Regions from separate parts of the Homo sapiens genome. Here region 1 is linked to region 2. The links are contacts of gene promoters, found by promoter capture Hi-C in blood cells and fetal thymus (Javierre and others, 2016). All regions are on one chromosome and are shown on one strand. The core of a region is centred on a gene start or on the middle of the fragment in contact, and the rest is flanking DNA. Distances in the headings are between cores, read along the strand shown. Region 1 holds the start of GALM (galactose mutarotase). Region 2 holds the start of ARHGEF33 (Rho guanine nucleotide exchange factor 33).

Region 1 (7,506 bases), core at 3,524-6,023, 220 kb after region 2:
ATCCTTTGGTTATATGAAGAAAACAATTTAATTAATAAGCACTTTAGTAATCTCAGATAATTTATATACTTTTTAGTGGCTGCTTGCTGTCCTAGTTGAATCTCCATGCCATTTTTTGCAGTGTTAATTAAGTGAAATAAAAAGTTCTAGTAGAGTCAGAGATGGTATTTGGGGGCAAAGGAAAGAAAGGGGATAAAAATGATTAGTTGCTCCCTCTGATCAGAGACGTATCAAATATGTGGTCAGATATGGTTAGACACATATCACAGCCCATGGCTCATTAAATCATCACAATCCATTTGTTTCACGTGAGAAAATAGGTCTGGAGAGTTTAAGTAAATTGCCCGGGGTCGCACAGCTTTAAGGAAGGAAGCAGAACTTTAAACCAGGAATTTTCAATGCTCCCACCAGGGTGCTCCTGGGCGTGAGCGACAATAAACTGCAGCCTCTAACCTGATCCTTTTTTTTCCTCATCCCTGCTTCTGAACCCAGGTTTTCTAAAGGCACTAAATTTACTTTTTCTATTTTTTCCTTAATGCCTCTCATGGCAGTTAATAGCCAGGTCTTTGGTGGCAACTGGGGGAAACATGAAAAGGAAGGCGTTTCAATGATTGTATGGGTAGGTTGTTTATACCTGTGGCTTATAAGCAAATATTTTCAGCACAGGCTTTGAAAGAAATCATAATGACTGTAGGTGGGACATGCCGATGAAAAATATTTTTAGGCTGGGCGTGGTGGCTCACACCTGTAATCCCAGCACTTTAGGAGGCTGAGGTAGGTGGATCACTTGAGGTCAGGAGTTTGAGACCAGCCCTGACCAATATGGTGAAACCCCGTCTCTACTAAAAATACAAAAATTAGCCGGGTGTGGTGGTGCCCACCTGTAATTCCAGCTACTTGGGAGGTTAAGGCATGAGAATCGCTTGAACCCAGGAGGTGGAGGCTGCAGTGAGCCGAGATAGCGCCACTGCACTAAAAAAAAAAAAAAAAAGAAAAACTTTTTTTTTCTTCTTTTGAGATGAAGTCTTGCTTTGTCACCAGGCTGGAGTGCAGTAGCACAATCTCGGCTCACTGCAACCTCCACCACCCAGGTTTAAGTGATTCTCCTGCCTCAGCCTCCTGAATAGCTGGGATTACAGGCATGCGCCACCATGCCCAGCTAATTTTTGTATTTTTAGTAGAGATGGGTTTCACCATGTCGGCCAGGATGGTCACTGTCTCTTGACCTTGTGATCCACCCACCCAGAGTGCTGGGATTACAGGCGTGAGCCACCGTGCCCGGCAAAAAACATTTTTAAATACAAAAAAAGGTTGAAAAACTCATAGGAGGCATTACTGATTTTTCTAGGCTGTTGTAGCAGGACGAGCCGCAGACAAAACTCCTTAGACACCGGATTGAAGAAGGCAGACTTGCGTCTCAAAAGCCGAGCTCACCGCGTGAGCAATTCCCGTCCCTTTTAAGGGCTTACGACTCTAAGGGGGTCTGCGTGAGAGGGTCGTGATCGATTGAGCAAGCCAGGGGTACCTGACTGGGGGCTGCATGCACCGGTAATCAGAACAGAACACAACAGGACAGGGATTTTCACACTGCTTTTCTATAAAATGTCTGGAATCTATAGATAACATAACTGGTTAGGTCAGGGGTCGATCTTTAACTACCAGGCCCATGGCGTAGTGCCGGGCTGTCTGCCTGTGGATTTCGTTTCTGCCTTTTAGTTTTTACTTCTTTCTTTGGAGGCAGAAATTGGGCATAAGGCAATATGAGGGGTGGTCTCCTCTCTTACTGTAACTAAAAATTTATATAATTTTCTTCTTTAGAATTCTATGAAAGAAAAAAATCCCATTTTCCCAGGGAGAAACTGAACCATTCTGACCTCTGGTTATGGCTGTCATCCAAACAGTTTATATAACCTGTCTGGGAAATTGAAGATTGTTCATATCTAACTCTGCAGTTACAAAAGGACCATGTCTCATGGAATTATCCACGCTCAGATCTTCCGCATGGCTCAAAACCATTTTTGGGATATGGTAATGTCAAGATAACCCCTTATTCTGTCAAGTATTTAAAAAAATTTTTTTTAAATTTAAATTTATTTATTTATTTATTTATTTTTATTTATTTTAGAGACAGGGTCTCACTATGTTGCTCAGGCTGGTCTCAAACTCCTGGCCTCAAGCGATCCTCCCACTTTGGACTCCTAGGATTACAGGTGTGAGCCACCATGCCGGCCTCTGTCAAGTCTTATTACTTTAAATTATTTACCTCTGTTTGTTTATATATACTTACATACTCTGATGGTTTAAAAGAATATGCAGTGAAAATTAAGTCTCCTTCCCATCCTCTGCACCCTGGGCACCCAGGATCCTTTCTTAACAACCACTGTTACCAGTTTATTGTTAACATAGGTTTTAATGCACTAGAAATGTAGTATCAGAGCACCATCAAAATAGTAACAGAGTGTTGTATATCTCCCCTGTAAGAGTCACAGCCCACACCTCTACAACAAACACAGGGTAACAAGAGAAAAGCAAAACAGCTGGGCACAGTGGCTCATGTCTGTAATCCCAGCACTTTGGGAGGCTGAAGTGGGAGGATTGCTTGAGGCCAGTAGTTCGAGGCTGCAAGTCAGCTATAATTGCACTACTCCACTCTAGCCTGGGTGACAGAGCGAGACTCCACCTCTAAAAAATAAAAAATACATAAAAAAGCCAAACAAATTTATTTGATTATAGTTTTATGTGACACGGGAGCTTTCAGAATGAAGACCGACAGATACAAGGAAAACAATCCATTTCTATGCTTAGGTCCAATGGAACATGGACAGCCATGTAGAAATATGATTGGACCAAAAGGGTAAGATCTGTTGCTAATAGAGTGAGTGGGGAAACTCGGCAAGGCCTGTGTTCAGATTTTTCTTGGCCTCCCCATGCAGCATTTCTTCCTCCGGGTATGGGGCAGGACCCCTCTGGAATGAGGGTCTTAATTTCTTTATGGTCAGCTGTTACACAGAAAGGCAGAGGGAAAGGTTAGAGTATATTTTTATTTTTTTGAGATGGGGTCTCACTCTGTCGCCCAGGCTGGAGTGCAGTGGCGCAATCTCGGCTCACTGCAACTTCCGCCTCCCAGATTCAAGTGATTCTCCTGCCTCAGCCTCCCAAGTAGCTGGGATTACAGGTGCCCGCCAGCAGCCTGGCCAACATGGTGAAACCCCATCTCTACCAAAAACACAAAAAAATTAGCCGGGCATGGTGGTGTTCAACAGAAAGCTGAGTTTTGTTTTTTTCCCTGAGGAATTGAAATTTGCTCTCTGTTTTTTAAGATAGAGTTTCGCTCTGCCACCCACGCTGGAGTGCAGTGGCGCAATCTTGGCTCACTGCAACCTCCGCCTCCTGGGTTCAAGCTATTCTCCTGCCTCAGCCTCCTGACTAGCTGGGATTACAGGCACGTGCCACCATGCTCAGCTAATTTTTTTGTATTTTTAGTAGAGACAGGGTTTCACCATGCTGGCCAGGCTGGTCTGGCCAACATGTAACCATGAGCCAAGTTACATATCTTACGTATCGGAAGAACCAAACAGACAGAATGACACACCAAAAGGAAAACCTCAAACCTCCTCTCCAGCAGAATTTGTCTACGCCCCAACCACTGAGCAGAGAGTATTAACTCTCAGTTTCCCTTTGCCAGCTTTATTTCACACCTCATTTTCTGTCTAGTTACACCATGGTGCTAAGAGAGCATGATGTACATTTTCCTTTGCTGCAATCAAGCTGCAATTGTCATTCTTTATTTATGCAATTACTGAGTTAAAGTCTATCTCCCCAGCCAAACCGCAAGAGTGGGGACCTTGTCTGTCCTGTTTAATGAGGTCATCGGATTAATAGAGTTGTCAAATGTATTAATTAATGCCTGATCCTAATTGCCCATGGATTCTGGGATAAAAGTCCATCCTAGTTGGTAGGAGACCTGATCTCTGAGAAGACACTGAGTTGGTCTTCTCTATTTTGTTCCTAAATGGTTATTGGGTAGCTGGTGTACTAGGCAACCACTGAGCTTAGTGGAGCATTTCTGAGACAACCAGGCCTCAAAGAGAATCTGATCAAGGAAGAAGGAAGTAGAAGAGGCAAGTATTTGAATTTCCTTCTTCAGAAGGGAAGAAGTGGGAGCCACACCCCCTCTTGCCTGCTCTTTCCTCTCCAGCCTTCTCCAGGTATCAGGCAGTTCAAAGATTAGGCAGTTCAAAGATCGCTCCAGGATCGCTGAAGTGTATCATACCATCAGCTGACCTTTTACGTTAACTGGGGCAAAGCCTGAACGGATAACCAGAGGCCAACTGCCATAGTTTATTTATTACAGTTTTTCCCAAATGCTGGATGGCCACACGGCCCTCTATGATGCATGCGCTTGCAAGTCAGACGGTCCCAAGCTAGGCGACTTTCCCCCTTGGTCCCTCGCATTGCAAGTGGCCCGCTAGATCCGGGAGGTATGTAGCGTGGGCCTGGGGCCTGCTCGCAGCCCAGGGCACAGTTCAACCCACCTTCCAACTCGGCGAAGCCAAGCACCACGTCCGAGGCTCTCCCCTGCCTGTCTTTGACCTCTAGGGCTGTGATCGTGCAGCCCCAGGAGATGATGTCCACTCTCAAGAGGTCTGACTGCAGCTGGAACTTCTCCACTGTCCCTCCTCCCGAGGGCAGCTCTCCAAACACGGCCCTGGTCACCGAAGCCATAGGGAAAGTTTGGCGTGTGCAGCCACTGCCCGCTCTTCAAACTCCAGCGCTCGCTAAGCTAGAGGCGACCCAAGTTTACAGGAGAAGGGGCGTGACTCGGCTCAGACTCCTCCCTTTCCCTGCCTGGATTTAGGGAGTGACCGTTCCTGCAAAAAATAGCCCCTGGGGCCTTTCTAAATCAATCATTTGCCTGAGGGTAACAAGAGGGGCAAACTTTGCAGCCACACTTGTACTTTTTTTCCTTGGCTCGTCCTGGTTGCATTGCATGTTGGGAATGGTAGTTTTTGGGAGGTGAAATTGCATTTTGGGGCTTGTAGTCTTTCTAAACTCGAATCCTGGGTTGACGGGGTTCTACCCCCATCTCCCCACACCTCAACATGTAATGAGCTGGTCATTAATGTCGGTGGCTATCAGACGAAGAATGGGAAAATACAGATAGCAGACTTACAGTGAGACCGATCTTGGGAAAAAATTAGATTTTAACTCTTTGATACAGGGGGTAAGAAGTACAGCAGTAGTTGGCCGGCTCGGTGGCTCACGCCTGTAATCCCAGCACTTTGGGAGACCGAGGCAGGCGGATCACGAGGTCAGGAGATTGAGACCTTCCTGGCTAACACGGTGAAACCCCGCCTCTACTAAAAATACAAAAAAAAAAAAAAAAAAAAAAAAAAAAAAAAATTAGCTGGGAGTGGTGGTGGGGGCCTGTAGTCCCAGCTACTCGGGAGGCTGAGGCAGGAGAATGGCGTGAACCCGTGAGGCGGAGCTTGCAGTGAGCCGAGATCACGCCACTGCACTCCAGCCTGAGTGACAGAGCGAGACTCCGTCTCAAAACAACAACAACAACAACAACAAAGTACAGTAGTAGCTTAGAAATGAGGTAAATCATCTCAGGCTTCTCTGCACACAGACTTACTGAAGATTCACTCTTTTTGTCCCACGGATGAAGTCCTGGACATGGTTCTGTTAGAGCCACTGCCCAGAAGGCTCTCCTGACGGCCAAAGCTGTGCCAGCCTCGAGGAGCTTGGACCAGACAGGGTCAGGTAGATGGATTAGGCCCTCGGTGTGCGGAGGTGATTAGAGACAGCCTCAGACTTATTTTACTTCAAGGGACTGGAAAGGGACCTCTGGTGTCTTCTGGCTCCTGAAGTCCACAGTTCCTTTAAGAAGGGATTCAGGGAACAAGTATTGATTGAGGTCCTTGTAAATGCCAGGTACTGAACCTTTGTTATCTCCTTTTCTACAAGTAGGATGGAGTCTTCAGGTATGTACAGTTGGAGAGGAAAGACACTAAGGTTATTAAATAATTGTCTTGCTTGATTGTGTCTCAGAATTTGCTGAGGACATTTAAAATGCATATTCCCAGTCCCCACCTCTGGAATTTCTAATTCTGGAAGTCTAGGGTGAAACTCAGGAATCTGCATTTTTCATGTTCCCAAGTTATTCTTCTGCAGATTATCTGGGACCAGATTTAGAGAAATATTGCTCTAAGGCTTGATGAGTAATCTGAATTTTTTTCCCCAAAAAAATAGGCTCTGATGGCAGAAGGATTAAGATAAAGCTATTAAGGGCCTTAATGAGATAACATACAGGCACCTATGTACTTCCTTGCTAAGTCTGGCAACTTTAGAGGAGTACTGAGCCTAGGAAGTGGGAGGATGCTGGGAGCCTAAAGACAAGTTTTACTCAAGCCATCTGCATAATCATCTATCTTTTCTTGATACTGCTCTTGGCTTGGTTCCTGGGTACTTCAGAGGGTATCCAACTAGACTGGGGTGAGTGCAGAAATGAAATGCATCTTTGATTAGGAAATTATGAGAATTGGGATTATGTGCCTGGAATCAGATGCTAATAAAACATAATAACTATCTCTCAGCTTCTTCTGTCTGTAATTTAAGGTATATTTAGCATTCTTGCCATAAAGCCTCAATTCTCCATCATGAAGCAGAAGAATTCTGATAGCAAAGGAAAAATAAAAAAGCTTGCAACAGGCTTCAGTGAAGCTCAACGTATAATAATAAAAAGACCCAAACAAGTCAAATTATAGACTGCATCACACTCATACAATAACCGACAGGCACTCCTATGTGCTGCTTCATCAGAAATTCTCATAAACTCTCAGTTTCATCAGCCACTTAACTTTGTGGTGATTCACACGCAAGCCCTTTGGCAATGCTGTGTTAGCAAGGATGTCTTAGAAAAGTGAGCAGGAAGACCACTTTTTTTTTTCTCAACCTCCAGTTCTCAGTGTTCTGCCAAGCACATGCTGTTACAGAAGGAAATAAATGTATTTGCCTGCCCAATGCTAAATGTCTCTACGGAAGCTCTTTTTACTCCATTTGGTAGAAAATGAATGTACCATGATGTCTCCCTAAAATGTAAAGAGGCCTGGGCGCGGTGGCTCATGCCTGTAATCCCAGCACTTTGGGAGGCAGAAGCGGGTGGATCACCTGAGGTCAGGAGTTCGAGACCAGCTTGATCAATATGGTGAAACGCCATCTCTACTAAAAATAAAAATAAAAAAAAACTAGCCAGGCATGGTGGTATGTGCCTGTAGTCCCAGCTACTCTGGAGGCTGAGACAGGAGAGTTGCTTGAACCAGGGAGGCGGAAGTTGCAGTGAGCTGACGTTGCACCACTGCCTCCAGCCTGGGTGACAGAGTGAGACTCTGTCTCAAAAAAAAAAATGTAAGGAGTACACTTCTTGATTTCATTTTCCTTTGAAGGGTTTAACTAACATATTGTCGCAAATAGCATTACCTTGTGCTTGAATCAACTGTCAGG
Region 2 (7,062 bases), core at 2,316-4,815:
ACCTGTAATTCCAGCATTTTGGGAGGCTGAGGCAGGTAAATCGCTTGAGCTCAGGAGTTCGAGATCAGCCTGGCCAACATAGTGAAACTCTGTCTCTACTAAAAGTACAAAAATTAGCCCATGGTGGCGGGTGCCTGTAATCCCAGCTACTCAGGAGGCTGAGGCAGGAGAATTGCTTGAACCCAGGAGGCAGAGGTTGCAGTGAGCCAAGACTGTGCCACTGCACTCCACCCTGGCAACAGGGTGAGACCTTGTCTCAAAAAAAGAAAAAAAAAAAAAAAAGGATTACCAGAGGAACAAAGCACAAGGCCTAGGTGGATTTAGGAACCCTAGGGAGCAAAGAAGGTAGAGTAGAAGGTGAGGCTAGACAGGTAGATTGGGGGCAGATAGAGAGCCTTGAATCTCTTCTTTGGAGCTTGCTCTGCAGTGGAGAGAATGAGTCATTGAAAATGTTTAAGCAGAGGTATAACAAGATCACATATCTCTGGTAAGAAGATGACTTAGTGGCACTGTAGAGGAAAGAGCAGCTGCAAAGAGGCCAGTGAGCAGGCACCTTTAATAACTCAAGTAAAAGATAATGATGACCTGAATTAGGGAAGTGACTCTTAGAAAGGAAAGGAGGGCACAGATAGAAGCGACATTTCAAAGGTTGCTCCATGAGCCAAATGTATGCTTCACCCAAGAAAAAGAGTTGGATAGTCACTCTCAGATTCAGAAGGAGGAAATATGTCATAAGATAATTTTTAAAATTACTCTAACTTATTTGAACCAGGAGACTAAAAGGAGGCTGAATATGCTATAATAATGAACTTGGTTCTACAATTTTAGCAGAGCCTTAACTTTTGTTTTTGTCAATTGGGGGTGCACTGACTAACTCTGCTAGGAGATGGGGAAAGCACATTTTAAAATGTCTCAAAAAAGAAATACAACCATCCTTTCTTTCCCATTGTTCATCCTTTGCCCGGGTGTTATGGTACTTAGCAGATGTCAGTTAGGTTTTTCTACTTTTCCCCAGTTATCTGTTTACCCACCTTTAGGCATCATCTCTACCCACCCCACCTACTCACACACTCCATAAAAAACCCAGTGAAAATTACGAGGAGGAGATTTTTTTAGAGAGCATAAGAATTTTCCAGTATTTGCTTCTTCATTGCTTGCTAAAACCATGCCAGCATAGCCTGGGGAAAGGTGGAAAGGGCTGGCATTGCCCCATATAAGGGAATTATATCCTCAAATCATTTGAGATAAGTAGGCCCCAAAGACAAATCCAAAACAGCTACTCCCTCATTCTCAGGAAATAAATTCTAGAGATTTCCTCAAATGGATAAATTTGAGAATCCGATTAGCTGCCACTTTTTCTTTATTTTTCTGATTATTTTAGGAAGACTCAAACAGATGTTAATACTTACTACCCTGTCTTTTTGTCAGTAAAGGCATGAACAGACAACAAAATAATCATGAACATACCAATCAGAAGAGTGCTCTCTGTAATATTAGCATTTATGATTTGTTTCGTTCATCTTATTTGGGGCATTCAAAGTGCTTTACAAATAACATAATGAGGGTTTTTTTTCCTTCCATGACTCCCAAGGTGATTCCTGGCACTCTCAAAAGGCACAAGTGATTAGTCAAGTCCTTGGGGCCCAGCAGCAGTAATGTGATGCATGTTGGTTAAACTGTGTTTCACACTCATGTAAATTGTGTGGGGGGCGGGTGGGGAATCTTCCACACTGTCCTTGAGAAGATTAGCAAGAATTATGAATTTAAAGATTCTTACATTTATAAAAATCCAAACAAAGAGAAATATTGAACAAATCATACTCCAGTCCTAAAATCAAAGTCTAAGGGTCTTAACCTGTGGTCCCAGGAATAGGGTTTCAGGTCACCTGTAAATCTTCTGAAATTGTATGCAAAATTTTGTGTGATTTTACTTTTTTTTTTGCAGAAATGGTGGACTGGTTTCTGAAGATTCTAAAAGCAATTCTTGACACCGAAAAGGTTAAGAACTGCTGTCATTAAAGAAAAAGAAAGGAAGGAAGAGGGAGAGAGGAAGGGAGGAAAGGAGAGAGGAAGGGAAGGAGGAAGATCAGTTGATCTTTGTATCTACATTACTTAGTTTATTACTGGCCTGCTATGTTGAAGTACACCCTTATACACAGAGAAAAGGGAAGGTAAATAAAGGGAATTAAGAAAAAGTTAACAATAAGGCCGAGCATGGTGGCTCACACCTGTAATCCCAGCACTTTGGGAGGCTGAAGTGGGAGGACTGCTTGAGATCAGGAGTTCAAGACCAACCTGAGCAACATGACGAAACCCCATCTCTACAAAAAATACAAAAATTAGCCGGGTGTGGTGGTGTGCACCTGTGGTCTCAGTTACCTGTGGGGGCTGAGGTGGGAGGATTGCTTGAGCCCAGGTGACAAAGTGAGACCTTGTCTAAAAAAAGAAAAGAAAAAAGAAAAAAAAAAAAACCAATAGTATGGTCATCTTGTTTCAAAAGCCTCTGAGTTTTCAAATGAGTTTAGATTGCATTTCCAGAGCCCATGGTTATGAAAAATGTAGACATTAATTAATTCAGTTTGTGAAAAATGTTTAGAATAAATGTGCATCAAAAACTTTTTTCTCTAGGATACATTTCTGATCATTATGTTGAATCCTTCAGAAGTAGCCTTCAATGAAATAGCTATTCCATTTACAGCAATATGATTTTGTATTAAAAGGGGCTATTAAAAATATAAAAGGGTGATATAGAGATTTCTACATATTCAGAATACTATTTCAGCATATAAAAACTCACATAATTCCAATACTAATTATAATAGAACGCTATTCTCACTTAAGACAATGTTTAAGTGAAACTCAGTTCTTCTCATTACACACCAAAGCCCCATGAAGTGTTTAGAATTAGGTTTCACCAATAAAGCCCCCATGTAATTAATCAGTACACATTTTCAATCAGGATATGTTTTTTGTTCTGTACATAGGGGAGTGAATGCTGAAGATTCCCCTATTCTTTTTCTGTGTTAGAAAGGAATAAACCAATCTCCCTCCATCCCTAATCTTTTTCATTCTTTAATTATTCTTAATCCCAAAGAGGCATGTCCATGTCAGATTTACGCTGTCTAGCATCCTTTCTTTAAGACTGCTCTCAAAATTTAACTCATCTTCAACTATATTTATTAATATGCAGAACAACTTCAGTCTCCAGTTTATCGATAACCTGCAAAGCGCAGTTAAGACATAATATAAAAATTAAGCAAGGAAATAAATGTTTTACAAATTGTTATAACTCTTAAATAAAAGTTATTTCTTTGAATGCCTACCTCAAATAAATGTTAGCATATATTGGATTTAAATTAGTACACCACGTGGTAAGGATTGATGGGTTTTCATCTCTTATAAAATTGTTTCCCCTTTCAGTGCCCCTTAAAGCATATAAAAGCGCATACTTACCCCATGTTGCCTGCGGTGGTTATATCATCCTCAGATCAAGGCTTATCTGGGTTCTGAATTAACTTAAAGGTTATAAAAAGAAGCAGTAGAGAGGCTTGACTTCCCCTGAAACGAGACCGTAGTATGCTAACCAGGCTTTTAAATGAGGAAAACTAGTGTCTCTTCTAATTATATAAGCTCCAGGTCAAATTCTAGCATCAACTAATCAAATAACTGAACTGCATTTAGTTTCAATGAGTAAAAAGGAAGAAACCCATTTAGGAGGAATATCTTTGGTATACTAGAAAATTGAAAAGTTGTACTTTGAAAAGTTATTAACATAGCAATACAAGTTAAATATTTTAAGAGTAAAATATATATCTTGCTGCCTTAAATAAATTGAAAAAAATTAGGGAAAATTTATTTTGCAGCAAAGCAGATACTTTTCTATATTTTCCAGAAGTTTTTGAATTTAAATTATATGTCCTGGTCCCTGAAAACATCTTCTCACCTTATCTTAACTTGTCCAGTATTTGTCTCTTCATGAATTTCCATATAATAATAATATTTAATTCTAAAGCCATGCCAGCTAATGTTTAGCAACATATACAAAAATGTCCAATTCTTAAAATGTGTCTTTGAAAACTTACAAATAGGGTCTTTCAAAATTAGCCATAAAGCTATTATTATGAGAAACTAACAAAAATGCCATTTTTATTTTAACATTTTAGAAGACATTGTAACCCAAATTTGTGCCAGTACAGCAAAAAATAAAAATATACATCTTTTGGCAATAACATATTGAGAAATACAAATATTCACAAGATTTTGAATAGAGAAATATGACAAAGAAGTTATCTATTGTGTACACTATTTTTTGTCAGTTTTAGAATATAGAGTTTCAGCAAAAACATTCAGGTCTTTATTGTAATTTTTTAAATGTAGTTGACATATACTGCTCTGGTAATTTTTAAATTATCTTATGTAAAAAGTAAAGAAGTTTTCTGGACATAGAATATATGACAACACACAGATCTACTTTTTAAGAAATTGAGACATAATTTACACATCATACATAAAATTTGTCCCTGTTAAATGAACAATTCAGTGGTTTTTAGTACATTTTCAAGACTGTGCAACCATCACCACTGTCTAATTCTAGAAACCTCATGCCTCCCAATTTCTTCCTCCCCTGGCAACCACTAATCTATTTTCTGTCCCTAAGGATTTGCCTATTCAGAGCATTTCACATAAATGGAATCATATAATATGTGGCCGTTTGTGACTGGTTCCTTTCACTTAGTACAATGTTTGTTTGTTTGTTGTTTTTGAGATGAAGTTTTGCTCTGTCACCCATCCTGGAGTGCAGTGGCATGATCTTGGTTCACTGCAACCTCTGCCTCCTGGGCTCAAGCAGTCCTCCCAAGTAGCTGGGACTATAGGCATGTGCCACCACACCTGGCTAATTTTTGTATTTTTTGTAGAGATGGGATTTTGCCATGCTGCCCAGCCTGGTCTCAAACTCCTGGCAAGCGATCCACACACCTTGGCATCCCAAAGTGCTGGGATTACAGGATGAGCCACCTGCCTGGCCAGTACAATGTTTCTGAAGTTCATCCATGTTGTAGTATCAGTACTTCATTTTTTATGGCTGAATAATATTCCATTATGTGGACATTTTGTTTACACATTCATTAGTTGATGGACATTTGGATTGTTTCCAGTTGGGGCTATTATACATGTCTTAGTCCATTTGAACTGCTATAAGAAAATACCTTAGACAGGGTAATTTTAAACAACAGAAATGTATTGCTCACAGTTCTGGAGGCTGTTAAGTCCAAGATCAAGGCACTAGCAGATTTAGTGTCTGGTAAGGACTTGCTCTCTTCTTCAAAGATGGCACCTTCTTGCATCATTCTCTTGTGACAGAAGAAGCAAGCAATCTCCTTCACATCTCTTTTATAAGGGCACTAATCCCATCCATGAGGGCTCTGTCCTTATAACCTAATCACCTCCTAAAGGCCTCAACTCTTAATACTACCACAGTAGAGATTAGGTTTTTGTTGTTGTTGTTGTTGTTTTTAGACAGAGTCTCACTCTGTTGCCCCTGCTGGAGTGCAGTGGCGCCATCTTGGCTCACTGCAGACTCCACCTCCCAGTTTCAAGCAATTCTTGTGCCTCAGCCTCCCGAGTAGCTGGGATTACAGGCACACACCACCACGCCTGGCTAATTTTTGTATTTTTAGTGGAGAGGAGGTTTCACCATGTTGGCCAGGCTGGTCTCAAACTCCTGACCTTAAATGATGCACCCACCTTGGCCTCCCAAAGTATTGGGATTACAGTCGTGAGGAAATTAGGTTTAAACATGAATTTTGGAAGGACACATTCAGACTATAGCAATGAATAATGTTGCTATGAACATTCGTGTGCAAGTCAATTCCCTTGCGTACATACCTAGGAACTGCTGAGTCACGTAGTAACTCTATGTCTAATATTTTGAGGAAATGTATTCCACAGCAGCTGCACCATTTTATATTCCCACCAGAAATGTGTGAGGCCTCCAATTTCCCCACATCATTGCCAATCTTTGTATTGTCTGTTTTTTTTTTTTGATATAGCCATCCCACCAAACAATGCATGTTCTCACTTATAAGTGGGAGCTGAACAATGAGAACACATGGACACAGGAGGAGAACAACACACATGTTGTGGAAGTGGGGGAAGAGAGAGCATCAGGAAAAATAGCTAATGCTTGCTGGGCTTAATACCTAGGTTATGGGTTAATAAGTGCAGCAAACCACCATGGCACACATTTACCTATGTAATAAACCTACACATCCTGCACATGTACCCCAGAACTTAAAATAAAATAATAATAATAATAATAGCTATCCCAGTTGGTGTGAAGTGGTATCTCACGGTGGGTTTGTAGGTTTAAGGTTCATTTCCCTGAAGAGTAAGGATGTTAAGCATCTTTTTGTTTACTTATTGGCTACTTGTATATCTCCTTCAGAGAAACATCTGTTCAAATTCTTTGACCTTTTTTTTTTTTTTGAGATGGGAGTCTCGCTCTGTTGCCCAGGCTGGAGTGCAATGGCGCGATCTCGGCTCACTGCAACCTCCGCCTACCATGTTTAAGCGATTCTCCTGCCTCAGCCTCCTGAGCAGGTGGGATTACAGGTGCCCGCCATCATGCCCAGCTATTTTTTGTATTTTTAGTAGAGATGGGGTTTCACCATGTTGGCCAGGCTGCTCTTGAATTCCTGATCTCAGGTGATCTGCCTGCCTCGGCCTCCCAAAGTGCTGGGATTACAGGTGTGAGCCACTGCCCCCCGCCCATTTTAAAAATTAAGGTTTTTTTAATTGTTGGGTTGTAAAAGTTCTTTATACATTTTGGAAACTAGACTTTGTATCAGTGTCATAATTTTTATTGCTATGGTTTCTGGAAATCTGGAGGTAGCAGTGAGCTCAACCAGTGGGGTGGGGGTGAGAGAGAAGACCACAGGACTACACCTTTATTAAGGTCCACGGATGTTATCCCTTAGGCTTTCCCTCTGGGGTTGTGGATTGGCTAGTTTAAAGAAAACATGTGGAAAGGGGGAACTTATTTTTGCATGACTTATTTTGACC

The links. Contacts are between HindIII fragments. The CHiCAGO score rates a contact against its expected background, and 5 or more counts as called.
Region 1: a contact is called between the fragment with the promoter of GALM here and the fragment with the promoter of ARHGEF33 in region 2, in 3 of 17 cell types (naive B cells, monocytes and total B cells). The highest score is 7.9, in naive B cells.

What each region holds. Positions count from the first base shown.
Region 1 is chr2:38,663,381-38,670,886 of GRCh38, reverse strand. It overlaps GALM (galactose mutarotase), which reads right to left and starts at 4,773. Exons shown (of 7, transcript NM_138801.3): 1 at 4,536-4,773. The coding sequence starts at 4,725. RefSeq lists enhancers at 3,996-4,508, 4,509-5,021. The HindIII fragment of the contact is 7,089 bases long and covers 1-6,706 here.
Region 2 is chr2:38,886,378-38,893,439 of GRCh38, reverse strand. It overlaps ARHGEF33 (Rho guanine nucleotide exchange factor 33), which reads right to left and starts at 3,565. Exons shown (of 18, transcript NM_001145451.5): 1 at 3,454-3,565. The HindIII fragment of the contact is 7,511 bases long and covers 1-7,062 here.